2 separate regions of the Homo sapiens genome follow, and region 2 is linked to region 1. Evidence: promoter capture Hi-C in 16 types of primary human blood cells and fetal thymus (Javierre and others, 2016). All regions are on one chromosome and are shown on one strand. The core of a region is centred on a gene start or on the middle of the fragment in contact, and the rest is flanking DNA. Distances in the headings are between cores, read along the strand shown. Region 1 holds the start of HBS1L (HBS1 like translational GTPase). Region 2 overlaps SGK1 (serum/glucocorticoid regulated kinase 1).

The links. The method cuts DNA at HindIII sites, captures the fragments that hold promoters and counts their contacts. A CHiCAGO score of 5 or more calls a contact.
Region 2: a contact is called between a fragment that was not itself captured here and the fragment with the promoter of HBS1L in region 1, in 1 of 17 cell types (fetal thymus). The highest score is 6.4, in fetal thymus.

Annotation. Positions count from the first base shown.
Region 1 is chr6:135,051,598-135,057,688 of GRCh38, forward strand. It overlaps HBS1L (HBS1 like translational GTPase), which reads right to left and starts at 3,225. Exons shown (of 18, transcript NM_006620.4): 1 at 3,052-3,225. The coding sequence starts at 3,094. It overlaps LOC124901405 (a long non-coding RNA gene), which reads left to right and starts at 3,296. Exons shown (of 2, transcript XR_007059775.1): 1 at 3,296-3,889. RefSeq lists an enhancer at 3,384-3,433. The HindIII fragment of the contact is 2,164 bases long and covers 1,763-3,926 here.
Region 2 is chr6:134,165,603-134,171,412 of GRCh38, forward strand. It overlaps SGK1 (serum/glucocorticoid regulated kinase 1), which reads right to left. Exons shown (of 14, transcript NM_001143676.3): 12 at 5,421-5,576; 13 at 5,224-5,313; 14 at 3,654-4,833. The coding sequence ends at 4,666. Among named protein-coding and RNA genes, the nearest start is that of SLC2A12, 120 kb to the left of the region's middle. The HindIII fragment of the contact is 1,120 bases long and covers 1,559-2,678 here.

The DNA.
Region 1 (6,091 bases), core at 1,975-4,474:
GCCCCTCTGCTACTGTTACCCTCCAGCACACTTACCCAATTTACAGAGCGCTACGCCTGTTCACTACATGAGACTATCAGCTTCTTCAGGGCAAGACTTGGTTTAGCCAACTACCTGGCACATATGGGGCACTAGATTAATATTTGTTTTATTATAAATTAATGAATCAAACTAATTACAACTAAAAACCCACAAAGAACATAAATATATTTACATAAATTTCATTTGACAAACACTAACACCATGCCAGGGAGTAGTTGAGACAACTGTGGTATAACAGTGAACACATTTCCAGTTATCACTGCACCTAAAATCTGACAAGGAATACACACAAGATAATGGGCAATTACAAAACCATGTGACAAGTGCCTGATGTGAGAAACACAGAGCAATTTGGGAACACACACATGAATGACAAAACTAGAACCGGGAGTGGGGCAGCTAGGGAAAGATCCCCATTAATATAATATCCAAACCAATTCCAAAGGATAGAGTTAGCTAGTTTCTGAGGGTATTCATGCAGCAGGAACAGCATGCTCAAAGGCTGAGACCAAATGCTTACAGCAAAGAAAAATTAGATAAATGCTACTATTGGGCAAAAACATATATGATTAAATAAATTATTAGATCACAATCCCAAGTTAATAAAAATTTATTTGCAAATAAACAAGGGGCCATTCACAAACAAAGTATTTTTAGATATTGAAGACAACAATAGGCCAGGCATCGTGGCTCACACCTGTAATTCCAGTACTTTGGGAAGCCGAGGAGGGAGGATCTCGCTTGGGCAACACAGCCGGATGCTGTCTCTACTAAAATAAAAAATTAACCGGGCATGGGGGCACATGCCTGTAGACCTAGCTACTCGGGAGGCTGAGGCACGAGGATTGCTTGAGCCCAGGAGTTGGAGGTTACAGAGAGCTATGATCATGCCACTGCACTCGCACTCCAGCTTGGCCAACCAACAAAGTGCGATCCTGTCTCTTAAAAAAAAAAAAAAAAGAAAAAAAACTCTTTTTTACTAGGTCAGTTTGTCAATGCTGAAGTTGACCCTAAAGTGCCACAACATATAAAGATGAAGAGAATTCTTTCCTGCAATCTTCATAGTTTGTTTCCTCAATCAACAAAATTATGAAATATTTACCACATGTAAAGAACATTGTGCCAGCTACTTAAAGTATGGATTTTGCCTTCCTGAGACTTTTAAATCAGTGACTGAGGCAGTCATGTAAAGTATTACATAAATTACAGAGAAAAACAAAGTGGGAGTTAAGTAGCGGAACCAGTAGGTTTTAGAACACAAACTCTCTCTAATGAGGTTATATTTCTTAACAGAATTTTTAAATTATTATTCTGAGAATTCAAGAGAAAGCCTAACTGGGAAGAAGAGAAATAAACTGGACCTTAATGAGTACAACTTTTATAAACAAGAAAAGGGGATGAACCTCCTTAATGTTACAGGAACAGCTTGGTTATGATGTCACCAATTGTTTCAAAGAAGCATGACAACATGACAACCTAACCTCAAGAAGCCAAGGTGCTCCCTGAGGCCAACCACCTCTCCTCCATGAAGCATTCCTTAACGTAGAAATCCTGCTTAAATTCCCCCCAATCCATTCTGAATTAAGTGTTCTCATCTGTGTATCCCTCCCATAGCGTTTTCTCAGTACCTTTTGTAGCATTTTTCATACTCTAATAATCTGTAACTCGTATAATCTTCTCCTTTTAGACCACCCTCAAATATCTTACTTTCAGTCCTCAAAGCTTAGAACAGTACTCTAAGCACTAACTTAATGGTGGTTGAGGAAATGATAAACAACTATTAAAGAAATGAATGAATAATAAATAGGCCTATTCATGTACTTTATATTTGCAAAAATCTCTCTCAATCTAAAGTCATTTCTTAGGTGACAATGGTCCACATGCAATACCATCCACTGCAATATTTATTTAAAAGGGCCTCCATTCTAAAGTAACCACCAGAAAATTCACATGTTCTAGACGGACTGAGGTCACAGGTTCCAAATGGAGAACAGGGTGTTAGCTGCCCTCACTCTAGTTAAAGCATACTGATGTTCTATAATAATCTACTGGGGTGCCAATGACAATCACCAACATATTAAGCACTACATGTTCTGCACTTCGTAAAGCATAGTTCTTTATTCTTCTCCTGCATTAGTTCATTTTTGTTTATATTTTTAGTTTATGTGATGCTTGGTGATGCCTATAGTTATCTACTGCATGAAGAGGGATGTGCTCCTCCTAAAAATAATTCTAACTCCTGTTAACTCCTACAGAACATTCATACAGACATTTTTATTTCATTTTTTAATATCAAAAAGTCCTTTCCTATACACTCTTTCCTCTAGTACTGCCGTTTATTTACATTTCAAAATACATTTATATCAAGCATTACCAGCCAAGAACTAAGTATAAACTTCAAGATCCATCTGATCGACTCATTCTTTGGGCCTTTTTAACATGTGTCTTTTCTACCGTCTCCTAAGTTTCCACTTTGAAATTCGTTGAAAAATAAATTAGCGCAAACTGATTCTGCACTAGGTATGTATGGACATACACAAAAGGTTTACCATGTAAATCTAACACAGGTACACGTCCGTTGAATGTATTAAGTCAATCTGTGTTTTACAAATAAGCAACGTTTCATGGACATTTCTCAAAGGGGATCTGGGAGAGAGGAGCTAGAAGCAGGCACGTTAGTGCCCAACATGGGAGGAAACAATGGAAGAGGTGATAATGCTTACGTGCCTAAATATCACCGGATCTCAACCTCACCAATATCCTACCCATATGACGCTATGCAGCACCTCCCCCTCCCCAAATAAAATCAACCCCAGAGGGCAGAAATCATGACTTAAAAACGACGGCATTTGAAAGCACTAGAAGGCCTGTTATATTCCCCAACTGGGGCTCTCCCAATCCCGACAGGGCAACACTGACGAGAAACTCACAGATTGAAGTGGATGCCAACGGGCTAGGATCCCAGCTGTAGCCGGGAAAAGAACGTCCCGGCATGACCCTGCCACCTACCTTCATCGTAGTTATAGCCTCGAACATTCCGATGCCGGGCCATGACGGCGGAGAGGGCGTTTGCCACAGCCCCTTAACTCCTTCCAAAACACTCCGCTTAGATACTGATAAGGCGCCAACTGCAGCCTGGAGAACCCCTATGCGCCATCTTGGCTTCCCGCAGGCCTCTGCGCCGAGCGCCTGCGCAAGCGCGACGTCTTAGCTGTGCACCGCGCGACGGCAATGCCTCAGGGTCACTGTCCGCCTCCCTGAGGGCGCATGCGCACTGCTGTGCATGGCGGGACGAGGGGAGGGAGCGTTTGGGAGTGGCCCCACCCAAAGGTTGGGCGACGGAGGGGGATGGGGAAATCCGCCGCCTAGAATTGACTGGTTTGGACTAAATGTTGCAAGCGGGGAACCTTGAGCTACCTACGCCAGCGTTCTGGATTATTTTCCAAATTTGGTTCCTGATAATCTGAGAAAGCTATGCGCTCAGTAAGAGCAGGGACCTTGTTTTATCAAACTTTGATCTTTCATTAAGCACACAGTGGGCATTCAACAAACTTGTGTAAACTTGGAATCAGATTTAGCCCAGGCCGGTGCGGTGGCTCCTTCCTGTAATCCCAGCACTTTGGGAAGCCTAGGAGGGCGGATCGCTTGAACTCAGGTGTTCGAGACCAGCCTGAGCAACATAGCGAGGCTCCGTCTCTACAAAAAATACAAACACTAGCCGGCCCTGTGGTGCAGACCTGTAGTCCCAGCTACTGAAGAGGCTGAGGTGGGAGGATCCCCTGAGCCCAGGCGGTCGAGGCTGCAGTGAGCTGAGATCGGGCCTCTCCATTCCAGCCCGGGCGACAAAGTGAGTGAGACCTTATCTCAAAAAAAAAAAGAGTCCAAGCTTTAGAGAAGGAAATAAGGCTATTTTTAAACGGGTATATATTATTAAATTGAGACCCTGGCTATATTAGGTCACCCTGCATTCATATAATTTACGACTTCATGTATTCACTCCGTTCGGCATTACTATCCCTAGTAAACAGCGATTTGCCCTTAGCTATGTAAACGATTTTAGCTATATAGACGATATTTATCAGCATCATAAAGAAGGATTCACTGAACATTCATTGAAGACATAATTGTGTGTAACATTGCGAGTATTAAATATAGCTTTTTAGACATAGCACTGGCCTTAGGTGGTAATGCTGAATGTTGTTGATGCATGAATCTATAACCTGCTATTAAATGTCCTCATTTCTCAGAACATAAAGTTAATAATGCTATATAAGAAACCAACCTCATTATACTGAACACCACTTCAGTTTTAGCTTGTGTTTTTGAAATGATGATACTTCACATCAAAGGCAAATGTTGAGTTCTAGAGATAATTAAAAGCTTCCTCAGCTTTTTGCTATGCACAATAGAAAGAAATAAGAGTAATCCAAATTTAGTTTATATTTGTAAGTGGCTTGGAACGTAATTTATTCATGCATTTGAATGTGTTTGACTACAAAAATAGTTGTTTAATGTGGCTCCAAAATAAAAGTTTACAGAAAAATAGAGATAGTTGCTAATGTTACATGGCTTAAGTGTTTTTATTATTTTACACCCTTAGGTAATTTTTATTTTGCAGCCTGTTTCTTTGTAAAAAGGAGATAGAGACACTAACTCGCGAGCTGTGAATAATGTATCCGTATAAGAGGATTTATCACAGATCATAGTAGGTGCTTAAAAATATTGTGTTATTGGCCGGGCGCGGTGGCTGACTCCTGTGATCCCAACACTTTGGGAGGCTGAAGCAGGCGGATCATGAGGTCAAGAGATCAAGACCATTCTGGCCAACATGGTGAAACTCCCTGTCTACTAAAAATACAAAAATTAGCTAGGCATGGTGGCGCGTGCCTATAGTCCTAGCTACTCGGGAGGCTGAGGCAGGAGAATCGCTTGAACCCGGGAGGCAGAGGTTGCAGTGAGCTAAGATTGTGCCACTGCACTCCAGCCTGGAGACAGAGTGAGACTCTGCACCCCCCCAAAAAAATTGTGTTATTAAAATACAAATGGCAGCTTCCACTCCACTGTAATTGTCAATTACAAGCTTAACTACAACTCACTGAGGTATGAAGTGAATGAGTTATAGACCACATAAGCAAAGTACTACAGGAACAATGAATAAGAAAACGTTACTTCTGTCAGATAATATATAATTTGCCCTTAGGTCGTCAATAACGCACTCCTTTAAAACTCTAAATATTGCACAGCATCTACTGCATCTCAAACAGTAGAGCCTCAATGGCAAAGCCTTCACTGACTTCTTCAGAAAAAGTTAGGATTGTTCCACTCCCCTCAGGACTCTGTAAGGTGTGGGCAGGGCACCGTGGCTCACGCCTGTAATCCCAGCACTTTGGGACGCTGAGGCGGGTGGATCACCTGAGGTCAAGAGTTCCAGACCAGCCTGGCCACCATGGTGAAACCCCCATCTTCCACTAAAAATAAAAAAAAATTAGCTGTGCGTGGTGGTGGGTGACTGTAATCCCAGCTACTCGGGAGGCTGAGGCAGGAGAATCGCTTGAACCCAGGAGGCAGGAGTTGCAGTGAGCTGAGATCGTGCCACTGCACTCCAGCCTGGACAACAAGGGCAAAACTCCGACTCAAAAAATAAATGAATAAAACTCTGGTATTGTGTTTTGATGGAAAGTACTATGACTTCGGAGTACCACGAACCTGGATTTCAGTCCCAGTTTTGTTGCTGTTAACCACTTCAGATTTAATGTCTTCATCTGTAAAATCGAATATATGAAAATGTATGTCTTCTGTTTTGTGAAAAGTAAATGATATATGTAAAAACAGTAGGTGTTGCAGAATGGGTACTCAGTAAATGCCACTTCTCTACCCCTACTAATTTCAAAGCTTTATCTTTGTTTCTCCGGCACCCTAATGTCTGGCACTTTAAATGTTTGCTGAATGAATTAATGAGTAAAAGAAGAGAAATAAAATGACATTTCTCTTGCTATGGAATTGTTAATGTCATAAAAAACAATACAAATCATTTTATATTGATTTGTGA
Region 2 (5,810 bases), core at 869-3,368, 890 kb before region 1:
GAACACTATTGCAAATTTTGTATTGCATATGTGTGCAGTCTTTGGGGTCTATACTGTGGAAGAGAACGATTGGGCCACAAGTTATAGATATCTTCATCTTTAGTAGATACTGCCAAGCAGTTTTCCAAAATGGTGCACCAAGTTATACTCCCACTGCAATGTATATTTTTGCAGCTGCTTCTTATCTTCATCAGTCACTGATAGTGTCTGTAATTACAAATTTTCCCTCTCTCTCCCTCTCCCTCTCCATCCCCCTCTTTTTGCCTAGCATGACATCTAGAAGGTATCTTTGTAAAAGTCTGGTGAATTAATAAATGGATGACTAACAAGTACACAGCTGTTTGCTTTTATACTCTTCTGTCACCTCTGAGGCCGGATAAAGTAATGGCTACAAGCATAGGCTTTTGGGCCAGATTGACATGATTTGACTTTCGATCTCACCACTTACTGACCAGCTAATGACCGTTCTGTACGAGTTTCTTCACTTTTGACATCACAGCATTGTTATGAAGAGTAAACAGCTTGACTACAGAATACTTAGAACAGCCAGGTATGGTGGCTCATGCCTGTAATCCTAGCACTTAGGGAGCTCAGGACCAGCCTGGGCATCATGGTGAAACCACGTCTCCGAAAAAGACTTATTAAGAAACAAAACGTTGTTTACTTGGTTGGCTGAGGTGGGAGGATCACCTGAGTCCAGGAGGTTGAGGCTGCAGTGAGCCATGATTGTACCACTTTTCTCCAGCCCAGACAATAGAGATCGTGTCTCAAAAACAAACAAACAAAAAAAACAAACTTAGAACATTGTCTGACACATAATAAGAGCTCAGTAGAATTAGCTATTACGATTATAATCCGGTCCTCAGGGCCTGTATCCTATTAGAGTTCCTAGAATTGGTTAGGAAGAATCTTAGAGCTTCCCGTCTATGAAGCCTGCTCTAGGCACCCGACCCCGCAGAGAGCCGCTGGACGTCTGAAGTTCCCTTTACCCCTTGTTCACTGCCTGTCACATGTTAAGGGTAGGTGCCTGTCTCCCCAGGTGGATGGCAAATTCTGTAAGGGCAGTGACTGACTTATTCTTTTTGGTAGCAGTGGTTTTAGACACATTTTAGCTTATGAGAATCTTAGCTGAATTGGTTCCCCCAAACCCATATTTGAGTAGACCTACAGCTGGAGAGCTATGGAGAAGACAATTATCCCTTTTCCAATCAATTGTCGTGCTCAAAGGCAGGCTGGCTGGGGCTCAGGGAATGTGCTGGCAGGGATATGCCCCACTCCCTTAGGTAAAAGATACCTCTGCACACACATTATTTGACAGTACAGTGCTTAGTAAATATTTGTCATTTGTTTATTGATCTCTTGTTCTTTCTTGACTTCCCTGTTCTTGCCTTGTTCTCTTCCCACCCACTTGTGCTTGATCTTATCTCCCATCTGGGTGACAATGTTTGGGTCTCCTCTGGCACCTTTCAATTCTGGAGAAACACAATTCAGATCTTCTATGTGAAGTGATGGACTATAATCCAGTAAACCAGAATTCTACCTTCAAAACATAAAAAAAAGCTTTGTAACTCGTGACTGGCCCATCTGAGTTATCTATAATTAGATTGCAGATTCCTAAGCCCACCTGAACTGTGTTCAGATGAAAATGAGATTTAAGCACTTTTTGTTCGAGGAGGAATTCATAACTGTTATTGAGAATGAGAATGAGGGGGAATATGCAATGAGTCTCTATGTTAGAGCCGGCATCAATCTTTAATAGGAAAATACATGCTTTTTTTTTGTTTTGTTTTTTGAGACAGAGTCTTGCTCTGTCGCCCAGGCTGGAGTGCAGTGGTGCGATCTCGGCTCACTGCAAGCTCCGCCTCCCTGGTTCACGCCATTCTCCTGCCTCAGCCTCCCGAGTAGCTGGGACTACAGGCGCCCACCACCACGCCCGGCTAATTTTTTTGTATTTTTAGTAGAGACGGGGTTTCACCATGTTAGCCAGGATGGTCTCGATCTCCTGACCTCGTGATCTGCCCGCCTCGGCCTCCCAAAGTGCTGGGATTACAAGCGTGAGCCACCGTGCCTGGCCTTGCTTTGGACTCTTTATTTGTCAACTGGGCCCGGTAGGGAATTGAACACGTAGCTAATGCCTGTAGAGCAGTAAGTCAACAGCAGAGCATGACCGGTGGCCCACCTTGAGCAAAAAGCTATCGACTCGTTTTCATCTTCTTCCTTCATTAGATCATGAGGGAGAAGAACTCGGTTATCTCTGAACACCTGTTTGGCCCTTGGAAACCTTGTGGGGTAGGAGAGGGGGACTGAGGCAAAGTGAGGTGAGACCCAAGAGCAAGGATAAGAGGAAAAAAGCTCACAGCTTTCCCTTGGGGAAATCCCTGTGCGAACTGGAAGGTCAGGGTAGCGGGGGTGCAGCAGGCCTACAGGGTGCTTTTGCAATTAAGGCAGCAGCAACATCAACTGTTTGGGGATTCCCTGATTATTTGTTAAGTATTTGTGTGGAAGACCTAGAAGAGTGAAAAAGTCCAAACCTTTGGACTCAAGATCTCCAAGGATGGTGCCACCTCGCTTTCTCCCACAGGTAATATCACAGTGGGGTGAGCTCTAGGAGTGGGCTCTGCCACACAGCCCCAGAGCCTGCTGGGCCCTTAGGGTGCTAGGTAGACACTGGCTCAAGAAGCTTCAGTCCAAGCTAGGGATGAGCTCCTTCAGGGTCCCTTTACTGAGCTCACTCTAGACCTGGGTCAACTCCAGGTACTCTCAGAAACCAGATGTCCCAGCCAGGTCAGCTTTTTGGGAACATATCCACTTATTTAAAACATTCTCCCCAGCACTTAGGGAAGCCGAGGCAGACAGATCACTTGAGGCCAGGGATTCGAGACCAGCCTGGCCCACATGGTGAAATCCCATCTCTACTAAAATACAAAAATTAGCCAGGCATGGTGGTGCATGCCTGTAGTCCCAGCTACTCAGGAGGCTGAGATGGGGGGATCACATGAACCCAGGAGGCGGAGGCTGCAGTGAACCAAGATCACACCACTGCACTCCAGCCTGGGCGACAGAGTAAGACCGTGTCTCAAAAAAAAAAAAAAAAAAAAAAAAAATTCTCACCCTCTTGTGTGGCATTCTCCTAAACTTCACAGACTATTTCTCAATTTCCATCTCAACTAACTGCTTTAGGTCGGCCTTCTTCATCAGGCTCTGGAAGGGCGAAGTTGTCTGCTTTGTCCACTACGATATCCTGAGCACTCGCAATAGAGCCCAGAGTAGGCTTTCAAATATTTCTGGAAAGAATTACCTGTAACTGAAGACAAGCCAAATGTCAGGACAAATAGTCCAACTTCACAGGACAGGCAATAAATACAGGAAGCATTACTTCATAGCAATCCTTGCAAGATGAGTAAATTGCAAAGGATTTCCTTGGATGGATTTATGAATGACAGACACCATAAAATGCTGCTAAAAAGGCCTGGAACGTAGGTTGGCTTTAAGACCATCCTATACTCCCCTGGAGTCAGAAACCACTGCTGTTGGGAGCAAACCACTAAGCAGGAAATTACAGCAGGATTTTCATGGTTTTCAATTTTAAACTAACCCATGATTACCCCCTTAACCAAAATATACAAAATAACACATGACACAATATATGTAAATATTTTTCAAGGTTTTATTGCAAACCAAAATCAGTTTATCACACACAAAAAAAGTTGTGTGATGGGATGAGGGAAGGATTGTACGTATTATAACCATGTTAATTACAGTACATTAAAATGGTGGTTTACATTACAAATAAGCCTGTAAGTTTAAATATACTAGTGTTATAACCCAATGTACAGACGTTCTTTATACAATACATACAATTATCAGGAATGCAAAAAAAAAAACATAAATAATGCCCATTTTACAGGTGACATTTTAAACAATGAAAAACACCAACGGCTCTGACTGACAACTGGGGCATTGGTCCATAAAAACCCTTTCTAAAAATAGAAATATTTGTAGCAGCAATGCTTTCTTTAAGCATCTGAATACGAGTCATTGCAAGACCATTTCAATAAATTTTAGTTATTAACCGTATCTTACAAAAAAGTCTACACATAAATTTATCTTCCAAATATGGAAGAAACAAACAATGTCCCACGTTGTAGTGTCCTGCAAGTGTCACATTGATGCTTATAACAAAATCCATCTGTGATCAGGCATACCACACTCACACGACGGTTCACACAGCATATCCACAAGGGAAAATAAAGAACTGAAACACTGCGATAGGAAAAGCTTTGGAGCTAACACAATCTCTTCAGAAAAGGCACATTTCATAATATTCGTCATCACAGCCCAGACAGATCTGCAGGAGACCTTTTTTAGAACAGCGTCCGCTTTCTAACGAAACTCCTGCCTCCGTCTAAGGCGGCACTCTAACGCTCGTTTCAGAGATAGCACCACGTTGGAAGGAAGAATAAAAATGAAAACCTCATGAGCTCACTGAGGAGAATGTGCTCTTCAAAAAGCTTCCAGCGAACAGTGTGCAATAAGATTGCTAAGCTTCCAGAGATGTGCAAATTCTCTTGTAAGATGTCCTGTCAGCTGGCGGCTCCACCAAAAGGCTAACTAAAACATTCGGAAACACACATAAAATCCTTTAAAACCAAGCCCTAACAGGGTTCAGAGGAAAGAGTCCGTGGGAGGCGCATAGGAAAAGCCTAGGAAAGCCTCGGCAGCTTCCTTGACGCTGGCTGTGACGAGGACGCTGTCAGGGGACTTGCCAATGGAGTTGGGGACAGGCTCTTCGGTAAACTCGGGGTCAAAGTGCCGTAGGTCGTTGGGCCCACTCTGTGACGGGAAGGGAAAAACACTCTTGTCAAGAACTCACACTAGACACAGGACAGGGAAATCTTGACCAGGCTTTAAATACCAAGTTTAAGTCTTATATCAACTTCCATAATCACCCACTTCAAGCACAAAATCTCAAAAGGCTACACACAGTTAAACATAAGAATAATGTTCACTTGTTGCCTTTTGGTGCTTCGAATTGATAAATGTGTCTAAAAATTATGGGAGCCTTGTTGGGACACAAAAATGTGCTTTTTATGTAGGTAAAATAACAGGTTTATGGAGAAAACATCTGCCAATGTATTCCTTCCAACCCTCCCCCAGACAATTCTGAATTAAAATAAATGCCCTTTGGGCTTCTCTATACTTAGAAGAGAGACAGATACTCACCACATTTGGGTTAAAAGGGGGAGTAATCTTCTTATTAATGAGATCATCCCAGTTAATTAAGGAGAAGAAGACATGACTCTTAATCTCCATCTGTTGATAAGAAACCCAAGATTAATTTAGACAGGTGCATTCAATAAGGGCAGGGAGGTCTAGTGCACGTCCCGGCCGGCCCAGGAGGACAGGAAAACATCACTCACGAAGTCATCCTTGGCCCCGAGCCGCTTTGTCCTGTCCTTCTGCAGGAGGCCCTCCAGGAGGTGTCTTGCGGAATTTGTAATATTTGGTTTCAGCTGGAGAGGCTTGTTCAGAATGTTGTCGTACATTTCAGCTGTGTTTCGGCTATAAAAAGGCGGCTGAAAGAAGGGGAAAATTACTTTAGACTTAATTGGAAGTTTCATATGGCACACATTACCAGTAGAGAAAAAGATATAAACGGCAATAAATATTAGGCTCGATTTGAGAAACTCTCCCCACCTCAATGCTTTCTTTTCCCTTGCTATTTAAGTGTCTACTTTGCAACCCGTGTGTGTGTTTGTGTGTGTGTGTGTGGAGGGTGAGGGGGTAGATGTTAATAAGTGGTAGTTTTT